2 separate regions of the Homo sapiens genome follow, and region 1 is linked to region 2. Evidence: promoter capture Hi-C in 16 types of primary human blood cells and fetal thymus (Javierre and others, 2016). All regions are on one chromosome and are shown on one strand. The core of a region is centred on a gene start or on the middle of the fragment in contact, and the rest is flanking DNA. Distances in the headings are between cores, read along the strand shown.

Evidence for each region. Contacts are between HindIII fragments. The CHiCAGO score rates a contact against its expected background, and 5 or more counts as called.
Region 1: a contact is called between a fragment that was not itself captured here and the fragment with the promoter of ZNRF2 in region 2, in 9 of 17 cell types (naive CD8 T cells, total B cells, naive CD4 T cells and 6 more). The highest score is 11.2, in naive CD8 T cells.

What each region holds. Positions count from the first base shown.
Region 1 is chr7:30,496,895-30,499,703 of GRCh38, reverse strand. GGCT (gamma-glutamylcyclotransferase) reads left to right here. Exons shown (of 4, transcript NM_024051.4): 3 at 766-901; 4 at 2,469-2,809. The coding sequence ends at 2,612. Among named protein-coding and RNA genes, the nearest start is that of GGCT, 6.5 kb to the left of the region's middle. The HindIII fragment of the contact is 1,330 bases long and covers 588-1,917 here.
Region 2 is chr7:30,283,180-30,285,886 of GRCh38, reverse strand. ZNRF2 (zinc and ring finger 2) reads right to left here and starts at 1,290. Exons shown (of 5, transcript NM_147128.4): 1 at 61-1,290. The coding sequence starts at 529. LOC124901607 (a long non-coding RNA gene) reads right to left here. Exons shown (of 3, transcript XR_007060274.1): 3 at 1,633-1,688. The region is part of intron 1 of LOC105375218 (a long non-coding RNA gene); the gene reads left to right. RefSeq lists silencers at 45-174, 325-404, 485-874, 955-1,004, 1,015-1,444. The HindIII fragment of the contact is 18,269 bases long and covers 1-2,707 here.

The DNA.
Region 1 (2,809 bases), core at 3-2,502, 210 kb before region 2:
TCTCGCTCTTGTTGCCCAGGCTAGAGTGCAATGGCGTGATCTCGGCTCACCCCAACCTCTGCCTCCCGGGTTCCAGTGATTCTCCCGCCTCAGCCTCCCGAGTAGCTGGGATTACAGGCATGCACCACCATGTCGGACTAATTTTTTGTGTGTTTTTTTTTTAGTAGAGACAAGGTTTCTCCATGTTGGTCAGGCTGGCCTCGAACTCCTGACCTCAGATGATCCACCCACCTCGGCCTCCCAAAGTGCTAGGATTACAGGTGTGAGCCACTGCACCCGGCCTTTTTTTTTTTCTTTTTGAGATGGAGTCTTGCTGTCTCCCAGCCTGGATTGCCACAGTGCAATCTCGGCTCACTGCAACCTCCACCTCCCGGGTTCAAGTGATTCTCTAGCCTCAGCCTATTGAGTAGCTGGGACTATAGGCGCCCACCACCACGCCCGGCTAATTTTTGTATTTTAGTGGAGATGGCGTTTCACCATGTTGGCCAGGCTGGTCTTGAACTCCTGACCTCAAGTGATCCACCTCAGCCTCCCAAAGTGCTGGGATTACAGATGTGAGCCACCGTACCCAGCCTAAATGCTAAGCTTACTTTTGATGTGGTAAATTTATATATTCTCTATCCCAAATACATAGGGAGCAAGTATGTTCAGATGTAGTTAAATGTTTAATCCCATACACCATCTTGACTATTATAAAAAGACCTTACCCAGTGAGCTAAATTGGCTAGGTCAAATGTGGTTAAAATTTGGCTGTTCTGGTTTCAGGCAAGAAGGGGTTAAAAGTGGAATGTATGTTGTAATAGAAGTTAAAGTTGCAACTCAAGAAGGAAAAGAAATAACCTGTCGAAGTTATCTGATGACAAATTACGAAAGTGCTCCCCCATCCCCACAGTATAAAAAGGTAAGCTATTTACAGACTGGTGGTGATTACTTTTTAAATTTCACTGAGAGAAACTAAAGAATATATTGTTTTTAAAAGACTTTAGGCCCAACGTGGTGGCTCATGCCTGTAATGCCACCACTTTGGAAGGCTGGGGCGGGCAGATCACCTGAAGTTAGGAGTTTGAGACCAGCCTAGCCAACGTGGTGAAACCTCATCTCTACTAAAAATACAAAACTAGGAGGCCGTGGTGGCGAGCACCTGTAATCCCAGCTACTTGGAAGGCTGAGGCATAAGAATTGCTTGAACCCAGGAGGTGGAGGTTGCAGTGAGCTGAGATCAGGCCACCACACTCCAGCCTGGGTGATAGTGAGACACTCTCAAAAAAATTTCTAAAAAAGAAATAAAAGGTTTTGTATGTTTTAAATTCCATGTAAACATTTATTTTAATAAAAATGTTTTTAAATATAAAAATGATAGTTATTTACCTAATGTACAGATTCAAAAATATTATGTGTAATGATAGAATTATGTTTTTAAAACTATTTATTAAAAAAATTTTTAGAAATATATGTGAGTCAGAATTCTAGACATGTATTTTCTCCCTTTCTTTTTTTCTTTCTCTCTTTCTTTCTTTCTTTTGCCTGGCAATAAATTTTTGCTTCATTTTTATGATGTAGACATGTATTAAAGTAGGAAAGAATATTTATGAGTGTATTTTAATAGATTTAGTCTCTCTCTCTTTCTCTTTCTATATATATATACATATATGTATATATATGTATATGTGTGTGTGTATCTATATATATATATATATGCTTTTGTAATGTTTTTCTCCCCGTAACACAGTATTTTATGAATACCAAGATTCATTTTTATAGGGGAAAAAAACATACTTTCTACTGCTGAAATGTTTTTCATCCCTAGGTGGAGAAAGAAACGTCACACTGCCTTTCAGAATCAGGGAAATCACCCTTGCAAGCACAAGACAAGAATGTGGGATAGAGACCCCAAAATTCCTGTTCAGAACCTAAGCTTAGCTCTCTGTTGGCAGGCCCAATCAGGTCATGGCACCTGTAATAGGTAATCTGGTTCCTAGGCCTCGTTTGGAATTTTTTAGTATGAAACCTAGAGAAATTAGCCTGGTATAGATTATGAAAGTACCGCTAAACACAGTTGCCATTTATTCCCCCATGTCCAATTCAGAGCAAGGGTAACCTCTGGCGTTGTAACCGAAACTGCTCTCTGTAAACTTTAAATTTTTTTTGAAGAATGGTATTTTTTTTCTTAAAAGGTCATATAAATTTTATATAGATATGTTTGTCTTAATATTAAAATATTTAAAATCATATATTGAGAAAGTTGATATTCCATGAGGATGCTTCATTTGGCTTTGAAAACTCCATACACATTCATGCTCAGTGTGAGAGGAATGATGGTATTCTATTTTATATAATTGTTTATTCTAGAGTTATCTGAAAGCTAATACTTCATACTTTGAGAAGGCAAATAAAGCTGTGGTATGGTACGTTAAATTATATTCCTAACTGAAAGGGTTTTTTTGTCTGTTTGTTTTAACCATTTCCAGATTATTTGCATGGGTGCAAAAGAAAATGGTTTGCCGCTGGAGTATCAAGAGAAGTTAAAAGCAATAGAACCAAATGACTATACAGGAAAGGTCTCAGAAGAAATTGAAGACATCATCAAAAAGGGGGAAACACAAACTCTTTAGAACATAACAGAATATATCTAAGGGTATTCTATGTGCTAATATAAAATATTTTTAACACTTGAGAACAGGGATCTGGGGGATCTCCACGTTTGATCCATTTTCAGCAGTGCTCTGAAGGAGTATCTTACTTGGGTGATTCCTTGTTTTTAGACTATAAAAAGAAACTGGGATAGGAGTTAGACAATTTAAAAGGGGTG
Region 2 (2,707 bases), core at 41-2,540:
CCACGGCCCACGTGCAGCCGCGGGAGGACCGAGCGCGGGTGCGCGGAGAGGGGTCCGTACCTCCAAACATGTGCGGCGAGAGGTGAGCTGGTAAGGAGCCGATCACCAGGCGCGGCCCGCCGGGGCTCCCGCCCACCGGCCGGTCCCGGCCGCCGCCGCCGTCCTCAGGGCTGCTGTGCACCGAGTCCTGCGAGCCGTACGGGCCGCTGCTGCTGTTCGGGATGCTGAAGGGGGACTGCGCCGCGCGGGCCCCCGACGCCACGCTCCCCACGGCCCCGCCGAGGGAGCGGCTGCGCGGGGCCGCCGGGGCTGCCGGGGCCGCCGCGGCCGCCGCGGCGCCGCCGGAGGCGCTGGGCTGGTGCGCGCTGGGCACCTGAGCCGGGAACCTCCCCGCGGCGGCGGCCCGAGCGCCCCCGCCGCCGCCCGCGGTCCCATTGGCGCCTCCGCTGCTACTGGAAGGTAGATCCGAGCCCGAGTACGCGCGCGTGCGGCCGTTAGCGGCGGCCGGGCCGCTCTGTTTGGCGCCCATGTCCGCCCTGCCCCGGGCCGGGCCCGCGCGCTGCGCCCCGAGAGCCGGGAGGGCGGGAGCGAGCGCGGGAGCTAGAGGGCAGGGCCCAGGCGCCGCGGCCGGCCCAGAGAGGCCCCCGCACGTCCAGGGCCGCCGCCCGGCGTCCAGAGGGGCAGTCGGCGCCCGGCGCGCTCTTCTTGGGGCGGCGGGCGAGGCCGACGGCCTGACGCGGGCGCGGGAGACGAGGAGACGCGGAGAGGAAGGGGTCCCGGCTGCAGGCACCCCTCGCTGGCTCCAGCAGGAAGGGGCGGCTCAAGTGGCCGTGCGGCTGCCGCTGGTTTCGGTTCTGGTGCGCCACGACGGGCCGCTACCGCTCTCTGCTGCCGCGCTCGGCGCCCCCGATCTCGGCACCGCCTCCTCTCGGGCGGCCGCTGCTACCGCCGCCATCCTCCGGCTCCCACGGCGGCTGGCGGCTGAGTGGGAGGCGCCCGCCCAGACTCCGCCGGGGCCACCTTCCCTCCTCCCCCAGCCACCCAGCTGTTATTAACGGAGAAAGAGGAAAAACGGGTGGCGCGCGAGGGGAGAACGAAAAATGGGAGGGAGAGGTGGCGCGCGCTTCCCGGCAACCGTCGCCTCGCTCCCCCTGCGAAGGAGGGGCCGGGCTGGCGGGAGGATCTGGGCCGCGAAGGCGGGGGGTGCGCAGATGGGGAGGAGGTTCCCCGGCCCCGCGCCGGAAGGCCGCGGAGCGGCGCGGCTGCAGGGTGCGCCCGGCCCGTGTGTTTGGGTCGCGCGCGTTGACCCCGCCCCCGCCCCCTCGTGCCGCCAGGCCGATTGGCTCCCGCCGGCCTTGCTCCGCCTCCCCCTTCCGCGACCTGCCTGCCCCTGCTCCGCCTCGCCAAGGTACTGCGGTGTGGTAGGTGCTGCCACTCGTGGACTCGGTGATGGACAGGTCTCTGGCCACGCCCTCCCAGCCAGGGCGCGCCCTTGTCTTCCTCGCGGGGCCTACGCCGATAGGAGGAACGGACACCGGGCGCCAACCAGAAGGCGGCCCCTCCTCCCGCACGTGGCCCGCCGACGCTGTAGGAGCCTGTGTCAGCTGCAGCTTTTCCTGGCAGGGGGCGTGAATGGCTGTGTCCTCTGCCCAGAGCCGTTTGGTTTCGGTGGGTGTTGGTGTTACACACTGATTAAAAAAAAAAACAGAAGCTCAAAAGCCAGCTTGATCTCAGACTTACTCATGAAACACCAACCTGGGAGGAAGCGCAGAGTTGGAAGAACTCGGGATAATCCAGGTTGACCCTCTGTGGTAGGGCAAATACTGTGGTGCCAGGAACGCTGCACCTGACTCACAAAACCTAGAATCTAGGCCCAACACCAAACTAAATTATCTGTAGTGAGCAAATTATTTTACTTTTTTGGACTTTAGGTTTATTTTTGTTTTTGTTTTTGAGACGGAGTCTCGCTCAGTCACCCAGGCTGGAGTGCAATGGTGTGATCTCGGCTCACTGCAACCTCCGCCTCCCGAGTTCGAGCGATTCTCCTGCCTCATCCTCCAGAGTAGCTGGGATTACAGGCACGTGCCACCACGCCTGGCTAATTTTTGTATTTTTAGTAGAGACGGTCTTTCACCATGTTGGCCAGGCTAGTCTTGAACTCCTGTCCTCAAGTGATCCACCTGCCTCGGCCTTCCAAAGTGCTGGGATTACAGGCGTGACGTACCGCACCAGGCCGACTTTAGGTTTCTTACCTGAACTGTTTGTGTTAAATCCTAGGGCACCTGCCTCTTTAAAATCCTATAACTTCTCTAAAATGTAATAAAATTCTCCTCAGTGCCTTCCTCAGTGTTGGTGTGGTCTCTTCACGGCAGAGCAGGGTCTGGATACCCAGGGAACAGCCTGCTCTGAGACTCCCATTATGAAAATGTCTAGTCTCTACTTGAAAATAATAATAGCAAGTGGTGTTTTATAAAACTACAGAAATACTTTGTCATCTTTTCACTATTTGCAATAAGTCATTTATGTAATGATTTTCATCACTCTTAGGGTATGGGAATCAAGTTTTTAAACAAATGGAGAATATATGTATACATATAAAGACGTGTATCTGTGTACACAAACACACATATATACATGGAAAAACAAAGGTACCCAGTGCTTTATATGCAGTATCATGTTAAGATATGGTCATCATTTTGGTTAAGTG